Linked DNA regions of Homo sapiens: regions 1 and 3 are each linked to region 2. The links are contacts of gene promoters, found by promoter capture Hi-C in human tissues and cell types (Jung and others, 2019). All regions are on one chromosome and are shown on one strand. The core of a region is centred on a gene start or on the middle of the fragment in contact, and the rest is flanking DNA. Distances in the headings are between cores, read along the strand shown.

Region 1 (2,915 bases), core at 58-2,557, 700 kb before region 2:
GGCCGAGGTGGGCCGATCACTTGAGTCCAGGAGTTCGAGACCAGCCTGGGCAACATGGCAAAACTCCATCTCTACTAAAAATACAAAAACTTGCCAGGGCATGGTGGCTCACGCCTGTAATCCCAGCACTTTGGGAGGCTGAGGCGGGAGGACCACTTAAGGTCAGGAGTTCGAGACCAGCCTGGCTAACATAGTGAAACCCCATCTCTACTAAAAATACAAAAATTAGCCAGGAGTGGTGGCACGCACCTGTTAGTCCCAGCTACTCAGGAGGCTAAGGCAGGAGAATTGATTGAACCTGGGAGGTGGAGGTTGCAGGGAGCTAAGATTGTGCCACCGCATTTTAGCCTGGGTGACAGAGGGAGGATTGGTCTCAATAAATAAATAGGTAATAATACAAAAATTAGCTGGGCATGGTGGCGTGCATCTTTAGTCCCAGCTTTCAGGAGGCTAAGGTGGGAGGGATCACTTGAGCCAGGGAGGCTGAGACTGCGGTGAGCCAAGATTGCACCACTGCACTCCAGCCTGGGCAATAGTACAAGACCCAGTCTCAAAAAATTAGAAGATTAAAAAAAAAAAAATCAAGTAGGATCATGTGAAGACAGGTGACAGGCAGTTAAGACATCACTGGAGTAGCTTGTGGGAATATTTTTCATGGCATCGGGAAGACCAAAACTGGATCTGTCATGATGGGTTGAGGGGTGTCAGGTAAAGAAGACTCAGAAAGGCTGGGTGTGGTGGCTCACGCCTGTAATCCTAGCACTTTGGGAGGCTGAGGCGGGCAGATCACTTGAGGTCAGGAGTTTGAAACCAGCCTGGCCAACATGGTAAAACCTTGTCTCTACTAAAAATACAAAAAATTAGGCATGGTGGCAGGCGCCTGTAATCCCAGCTACTTGGGAGGCTGAGGCAGAAGAATCACTTGAACGCGGGAGGCGGAAGTTGCAGTGAGCCGAGATCGTGCCACTGCACTCCAGCCTGGGCGACAGAGCAAGACTCTGTCTCAAAATAAATAAATAATAAAAGGACTCAGAAATATGGTATGTGGCTCCTGCATCACTGTTGCCAGGAGTTTGATAATGCTTTTAATCTAATGAGTGCTGTAGTTTGAAAAAAATGTAAGCTTGATGGTGAAGAGAAAGAGAGAGTTAGCTTCACAGAGCAAGAAAGTAGCTTGAAGGGGATTCAGCACTAAAAGGGTTTTCTAGATCTAAGAACAGGAAGATTTGAGCATTTAGGCAGTGTAAAAGCACGTTGGGGAGGGAGGTTTGGGCTCCAGGGCCAGGTGGACCAGGTGGCCTGCCTGAGAAAGGAGCAGGCTGGCAGAGGCAGAGGGGGAGAGTATAGGTTCCCCTGAGCAGCTGAGCCCACTCCAGCCTGGTGGCCTCGCTTCTCTTTGGGGAGTAGGAGGCAAGAGCACCTGCTGAGAGAGCAGAGCAGGCAGCTGGGAGTGGAATAAAGGTTTCAAGGAGTGGGTGGTAGAGGTTGAAAGACCTGCCGTGGCAAGTGTGCAAAGAAGCCGACTAGGGAGGTTAAGGGATTTCCAGGTAGCGTCAAAGGCCCAGATGATGCTGGAAGCTGTAACTTGTAATGATTGCTCCAGTGCGCTCAGTTATGTGATTTTCTCTGGCAAATGTGGTAGCCATGAATAGGATTCACAGGTGGAGGGCTTTTTCTGGGCAGGTCAGGAGGACAAGATGGAGTGAGAATTGAGGTGTCTTTGGTAAGAGTGTCTGAGATGACTGGGGAAGAGGAGGGGCTAAGGCCCCTGGGGGCAGCCCAGGGTCTCTGTCTTGATGACGTGTTAGAGCAGGGGCAGTGGCCAGGAGGGAGAGCTGGCTGAACAGGAGGGACTCAGAGAGGGGGCCATGGCCAGGGAAGAACTCTGGAATGAATCCAGTGAAAGGCCAAGGCTGAGGAAGACGTCTGAGTGGGAACAGAGATGACGGTCAATAGAACCAAGGAGGTTAGGGATTGAGAGGCCAGAGAATTGGGTGGGTCCTCTAGCGACGAGGTTGCAGGACCATACAAACAGCAGGAGTCCAGAGCCGGCATCTTAAACAGATGTGGCAGGTGTCTGGCAGGCCTGAGGAGACAGCCACAGCACTGGTGGTACAGCTATCATGGCAGCCAGGGGCTTTGCAAAAAAACACTACGGGCCAGCTGGGTTTGAGAAGGTTAAGCTGCCTCCTCTTGGGAGGACTGCAAAGAAAACTGTCCAGTGGGCACATTCCAGTGTGAATGGGGCGGTAGAGGTCATGATGAGTCAAGAGGTTGAAGGGGAAGCAAAGCTTTCTTTTCAGAGGTTCTAGAGGGCCCAGTGAAAGGATAAGCTGGGTCAGCAGAGGGGACAGCTTGAGCCTTGAGCAGGTGTGACTACTGAGGTCACTAGTGATTCTGCCCTTCCTAGCCATGTGGCCTCAGGCAAGTCACTGCCCACCCCCCAGCATCAGCCTAAAATCAGAAAATATCTACAGCCATGGGCTGGTACGCCTCGTGGGCCTGAGAGAGCAGGAGTTGCTCAGAAAGAACAGGAGCTGGATCTGAACAGATGGGGCAGGGCAGGGGGCAGGGATGCACCTGTGAAGACAGAAGGTGGGTGATCCGGCCACCCCCTTCCTCTCCTCACTAGTGACCTGGATGAGGAGAAGGGGCCTCAGCAGAGGAAGCACGGGCAGCAGCCCTTACCTGAAGCCCATCAGCCTGTCAGCATTCTCACCAGCCCTGAGCCCCACAGACCACCTGAGACATCCTCCGCCACTAAAGGAGCCCCCACTCCAGCTTCAGAACCCTCAGTCCCTCTCTCACCTCCCTCTCTTCCTGATCCTTCCCACCCACCCCCCAAATAAACCAAAAGTGGACACAAGTGTGAATCTTAAATTATTATTATTTCTTCCTGTCGCTTACACCCGAGG
Region 2 (2,963 bases), core at 85-2,584:
CTATGTCTCAAGGCTCCACCCAAGCACACCGATGCAGTGTGTATCTGGGGTACAAACAGGAGAGGTCCTGAGTGGAGATGAGCCCCCAGAGGACTTCAGGTGGGGGATACAAGAGGATAGCAGCTGCCCTTCGTGCCCTGCCATTGATTTCTGTCTAGGTGAGCCAAGCATTAGTGTGAGGAAGCAGGATGGAGAGATACAGAAAGAGGAGGGGCTGGTGGGGCCAAAGGCTTATTTCAGTCTGGGACACTGTTCAAGGGGATAATGTCCACGAGTCACAGAAGGATTTGCGTTTCCACCATCACCAGACAGACAAACTGGCATGCACATCCCACGTGCTCTGATGACCAGACCCCACCCTCCTCACCTGAGACGTTACCACCCACGTAGATGGCTATCGTAACGGCCAGAGAGCCAGCCAGAAACATGGTGAAGAAGTTGCCTTTGGTTTCTCCACTGGTGACAGCCTGGGCCACAGCTCCTTGGGTGAGGAGCTGCTGAGAAGAGGAGAGATGAGGAACAGGGAGCCCAGGAGACCAACAGGGAGAAAGGTTGGGAAGGCCAGGGGAGCAGCCAAGGAGATGAATGAGCACAGAAGACAAGCAAGGGAAGGAGAAAAGCAGAAGGAGGGAAGGGAAAAGAAATGGGGAAAGTGGAGGAAGAAGAAAGGGAAAGAATGTGGGAAAAAAGAAAAGAATTTACCCAACTCATAGGCATTTGAGGGTACAAACCCATGGCAGGGCTCAGCTTTAAAAAGTCTTATCTAAGATTCTTTCTATGGAAGAGTTCCATCAAAGCCAATTTTAAAAGCCTATGTGAAAAATAATTATTCTTGCTGCACTTTATACAATCATCAGGCCAAGTATAATAAAGCACATTGGTCTTACCATGAAAATGGTCTTTCATAAAAATGGGAAACTGAAGAGAGAAAAATTATGTTTCAAGAACTATGATACACTTGTTATTAAAGAAAGAATAAAAATGACAAGAATAAAAATGATGAAGTAGGAGAGGAAAGGAGATTAGGAGAGACGAGAGGATAAAAACGAAAAGTGATAGGGAGTTGAGAGGAAGGGGGACACCAAGAGAAAGAGATAAGGACAACAGAAGGAGCCAGGAACTTTTGCCCAACCCCCTTCTTTCCTTCCCGCAGTGATCCTACCTACCATGAGTACAAACACACCCAGAAACTCTGCCAGGCACTGCCGGGCCAGGAGGCTGCGTATCCGGAGGTGGCCCATGATTTCAGCCGGGGCCTGAGTGAAGACCATGGTGGAAACACCCTATTGCTATTCACTGCTCCCTCTGTCTGCATAGGCACACTGTCACTGCACAGCTACTGCCTGCCTCCAGCAAAGATAAGGAACAGACTTTAAAACCATTAGCTCAGTTCCTGAACAGCAGCTACGTGTCTGTGCACGTGTGTAGGCTAGGAAACAGAGAGATAACAAGAGAATGTCTGGGAGCAGGCTATGAACACAGAGCCTGGAGTTTACCCAACCTCTGTCTCTTTTACCCTTCATTCCCAGTCATCACAGGACTAGCCTCCCCCATCCTGACAAATAGAAGGAAGTACCCCGCTTCATAGACATTAGATCTCTTGGTCCTGAAGTCAGCTCTGCAAAGTAGTACTATTGCTTCCATTCTACAGATGAGGCTAGTGGGCCTTAGAACTCCCCAAGATCAAACTTTTTTTTTTTTTTTTTCTGAGAGAGAGTCTTGCTCTGTCCCCCAGGCTGGAGTGCAGTGGCACCATCTCAGCTTACTGCAACCTCCACCTCCCAGGTTCAAGCAATTCTCCTGCCTCAGCCTCCCAAGTAGATGGGACTACAGGTCCATCACACCTGGCTAATTTTGATATTTTTTAGTAAAGACTTGGTTTCTCGGGAGGCCGAGGCAGGCAGATCACGAGGTCAGGAGATCAAGACTATCCTGGCCAACATGGTGAAACTCCATCTCTACTAAAATACAAAAAAATTAGCGTGGTGGTGCACGCCTGTAGTCCCAGCTACTCGGGAGGCTGAGGCAGGGGAATCACTTGAACCAGGGAGGCGGAGGTTGCAGTGAGCCGAGATTGTGCCACTGCACTCCAGCCTGGCAACAGAGCGAGACTTTGTCTCAAAAAAAAAAAAAAAAAAAAAGACGGGGTTTCACCATGTTGGCCAGGCTGGTCTCAAACTCCTGACCTCTAGTGATTCACCTTCCTTGGCCTCCCAAAGTGCTGGGATTACAAGCGTGAGCCACCGTGCCCGGCCCAAGATCACACAATTATTTCATGGCTGAGTGAATTCAAATCCAGATTTTCTGACTCTCCAGCTGGTAACCCACAAAGCCTCTCATTTAGAACCTGAAGCCTTACCCCAAACCATTTGGATGCTTGAAGAACTCAATAGGCATCTGGAAAGACTGGGCTAAAGACCACAGACTGTGGGAATGAAACTCACATATTGAGTGCTTGTACTTCCCTTATGCCGAGTGTCACATAGGTTAGAGAATACTCCATCTTTGTGTCCCCTGACATGGCTTGACATGAGGCCTTCACACTCATGCTGAGCTCCACCTGGCCTTCTCTGGGTGCATGCCACTCTTGCTCTGCATGAAGTAACCGCATCCTACTTCTTCATATCTCAAGGCTCCAATTAAATGCATTCAAAGAATCTACGTCTAGACACTGGAGAAACAGTGGTGAACAAAACATAGTCTCTGCCCTCCTAGAGCTTATGTTCTAGTAGGTGGAAACAGACAATATGCAACTTTTTAAAATACCATATACAGTTTATGAAGTTCTTGAGGGCTACCATTATGATTTATGTAACCCTGTGGGCTCTACCACTGTCCTGGGCACATCTGTGTGACTAGTAAAGAAATAATATTTCTTTACTAGGTTTAATGGATACTATAGTGCTCCACCCAGATTCCCCCTTGGGAGCCAATATGCCCATTCGCTACATGTAGGAAATACC
Region 3 (2,792 bases), core at 180-2,679, 820 kb before region 2:
GAAGAAGCAAAAGCAGAAACCCCTGATGAACTCATCAGATCTTGTGAGACTTATTCACTATCATGAAAATAGCACGGGAAAGTCTGGCCCCCGTGATTCAATTACCTCCCCTTAGGTCCCTCGCACGTGGGAATTCTGGGAGATACACATCAACTTGAAATTTGGGTGGGGACACAGCCAAACCATATCATCTGAATGACCATATTTCTTCCTTTTTAATGAGTTGCCCCACAGTTCTTCTAGTGTGTGATCTCTCTGTTGTGGCAAGTTAATAAACCTAACTGTCAAACTACAGATGTGGTCTTTATAAGACAGGCTTATCAATTGTCTTTCCTTTCTTATATAACTCTTTGTTTCCTCTGAAGTTGATAATTGCCTAACCTTTTCTCTTACTTTGTTCTCTCTCTCTCTTTCTCTCTATACATAATAAATTCATCCCCAAAACTGTTCTAAAGAATTATACTCTTTCTTTCAATGCCTTCACCACTTCAGGTAATTCTTCTGGTCTTTCTTTTCTTTTCTTTTTTTTTGAAACCCAGACTCCTGGAGCCCTTCTTCCTCTGGCTCCAAGTTATATTGGTTGTTGTCCTTGTAAAAATATGACTACCTCTGTTCTAACAATAATCTCAAGCCTTCATGGTTAGTTGTCAATGCAACTGCTTCACTGACTCCTGCTTTCCCCCTCCACCTGAAAGGGGTCGAGTCTCTTGACATCTCTGTATCTCCAAAGTCTATCATGGTAATCAAGAAATGTTCTGGCCGGGCGCTGTGGCTCATGCCTGTAATCCTAGCACTTTGGAAGGCTGAGGTGGGCCAGTCACTTGAGGTCAGGAGTTTGAGACCAGCCTGGCCAACATAGTGAAATCCCCGTTCTCTGCTAAAAATAAAAAAATTAGCCCGGCGTGGTGGCGCGCGCCTGTAATCCCAGCTGCTCGGGAGACAGAGGTTGCAGTGAGCTGAGATCGAGCCACTGTACTCCAGCATGGGCAACAGAGCGAGACTTTGTCTCAAAAAAAAAAAAAAAAAAAAAAAAAAAAAAAAGGAGTTCTGTCCCGCCTAGGCACTATAGAGAGACCCTGTCAAGAATGGAAAGAAAGAAATCTTCGAATGAATGAACTAGTGAATGAAGGAATGGATTTCAGCGCTGGAGAATTGAGTTTAAGGGGAATGGTATTATATTCCCATCTTGTTGCAACATTTAAGGATGTCCTCAAGCCCCACGCCAGCCTGGAGCGTAGCCCAAGGTGGGAAAGCAGCGCCGAGGCCTCTCCAGACCCGGCCTGCTCCCCGTTTGCGGAGCACAGCCCACTGTACCCCCGCCTAGATTGAGGCGCTGGCCAGGAGTACACCAGGCGCCGCCATGTGAACTACAACTCCCAGAAGGCCGCGCGGAAGCGGAACGTGAACCAGGGAGGACTTCCGGACGCCAACATCCGGGCCGCGCGGGGAAGGGGAGACGTGGGGTAGAGGTAAGTGTAGGTTGAAGGCTGAATGGGGAGGGCGAGAGATGGGGAGTGGGTCTCAAATATAGAGGGGGTAGCAAGGTGGAAGGGGCCCTTCCACCTTTTGTGGGCACTCAAGTTCGGACCTCTGGGATCGGCGATTCCCCTCTGGCCAGGGCTGGTTTTAATGCTCTCCGTGGGCGGGCTTCGGTTGAGTTTGGTCCGCTTTTCCTTTCTGCTCCTCAGGGGAGCATTGCTTCCTTCTCTCGCAGTGACCATGACGAAATTAGCGCAGTGGCTTTGGGGACTAGCGATCCTGGGCTCCACCTGGGTGGCCCTGACCACGGGAGCCTTGGGCCTGGAGCTGCCCTTGTCCTGCCAGGAAGTCCTGTGGCCACTGCCCGCCTACTTGCTGGTGTCCGCCGGCTGCTATGCCCTGGGCACTGTGGGCTATCGTGTGGCCACTTTTCATGACTGCGAGGACGCCGCACGCGAGCTGCAGAGCCAGATACAGGAGGCCCGAGCCGACTTAGCCCGCAGGGGGCTGCGCTTCTGACAGCCTAACCCCATTCCTGTGCGGACAGCCCTTCCTCCCATTTCCCATTAAAGAGCCAGTTTATTTTCTAACTTCGTTTAGTTTGAGTATGGAAAACGGGTATTGGGGATTCTATGTACTAACGGTCGAGAAGTGAATGTGAAAGAACCACCTTCTTGAGGCCATCTCAGCCTTTATCTTTGCATCTTGCTGGTGTTCCCATTTTTGCTCCCAAGGAGGCAAAGACCCCTTCTCAATATTTCTCAGGATGGAAATGACATTTCACTTTCCTGGTCCTTTCAACCCTGTAGGAAGTACTTCTTTTTTTTTTTTTTTGAGACGGAGCCTTGCTCTGTCGTCCAGGCTGGAGTGCAGTGGCGTGATCTCGGCTCACTGCAAGCTCCGCCTCCCGGGTTCACGCCATTCTCCTGCCTCAGCCTCCTGAGTAGCTGGGACTACAGGCGCCTGCCACCACGCCTGGCTAATTTTTTGTATTTTTAGTAGAGTCGGGGTTTCACCGTGTTGGCCAGGATGGTCTGATCTCCTGACCTCGTAATCCGCCCGCCTCGGCCTCCCAAAGTGCTGGGATTACAGGTGTGAGTCACCGCGCCCGGCGTACTACTTCTTTTTTTTTTTTTTTTTGAGACAGGGTCTCACTCTGTTGCCCAGGCTGGAGTGCAGTGGTGCAATCATGGCTCACTGCAGCCTCACCCTCCCAGGCTCAAACAGTTCTCCCACCTCAGCCTCCAGAGTAGCTGGGACTACAGGCATATGCCACCACGCCACCAGGCTAATGTTTAATTTTTTGTAGTGAC

What was found. The method cuts DNA at HindIII sites, captures the fragments that hold promoters and counts their contacts. A contact is called where the count stands out against the background at its distance.
Region 1: a contact is called between a fragment that was not itself captured here and the fragment with the promoter of AQP10 in region 2, in 1 of the 25 tissues and cell types used here (dorsolateral prefrontal cortex).
Region 3: the fragment with the promoter of DPM3 here is called in contact with the fragment with the promoter of AQP10 in region 2 in 1 of the 25 tissues and cell types used here (neural progenitor cells).

What each region holds. Positions count from the first base shown.
Region 1 is chr1:155,018,478-155,021,392 of GRCh38, reverse strand. DCST2 (DC-STAMP domain containing 2) reads left to right here. Exons shown (of 15, transcript NM_144622.3): 15 at 2,633-2,866. The coding sequence ends at 2,849. It overlaps ZBTB7B (zinc finger and BTB domain containing 7B), which reads right to left. Exons shown (of 3, transcript NM_001256455.2): 3 at 2,870-2,915. Among named protein-coding and RNA genes, the nearest start is that of DCST2, 14 kb to the left of the region's middle. The HindIII fragment of the contact is 3,850 bases long and covers 1-2,915 here.
Region 2 is chr1:154,319,464-154,322,426 of GRCh38, reverse strand. It overlaps AQP10 (aquaporin 10), which reads right to left and starts at 1,334. Exons shown (of 6, transcript NM_080429.3): 1 at 1,167-1,334; 2 at 368-494. The coding sequence starts at 1,271. RefSeq lists a silencer at 1,364-1,555. The HindIII fragment of the contact is 14,849 bases long and covers 1-2,963 here.
Region 3 is chr1:155,139,168-155,141,959 of GRCh38, reverse strand. DPM3 (dolichyl-phosphate mannosyltransferase subunit 3, regulatory) reads left to right here and starts at 1,429. Exons shown (of 2, transcript NM_153741.2): 1 at 1,429-1,469; 2 at 1,715-2,069. The coding sequence starts at 1,720. The coding sequence ends at 1,998. RefSeq lists enhancers at 1,130-1,189, 1,360-1,489. The HindIII fragment of the contact is 27,453 bases long and covers 1-2,792 here.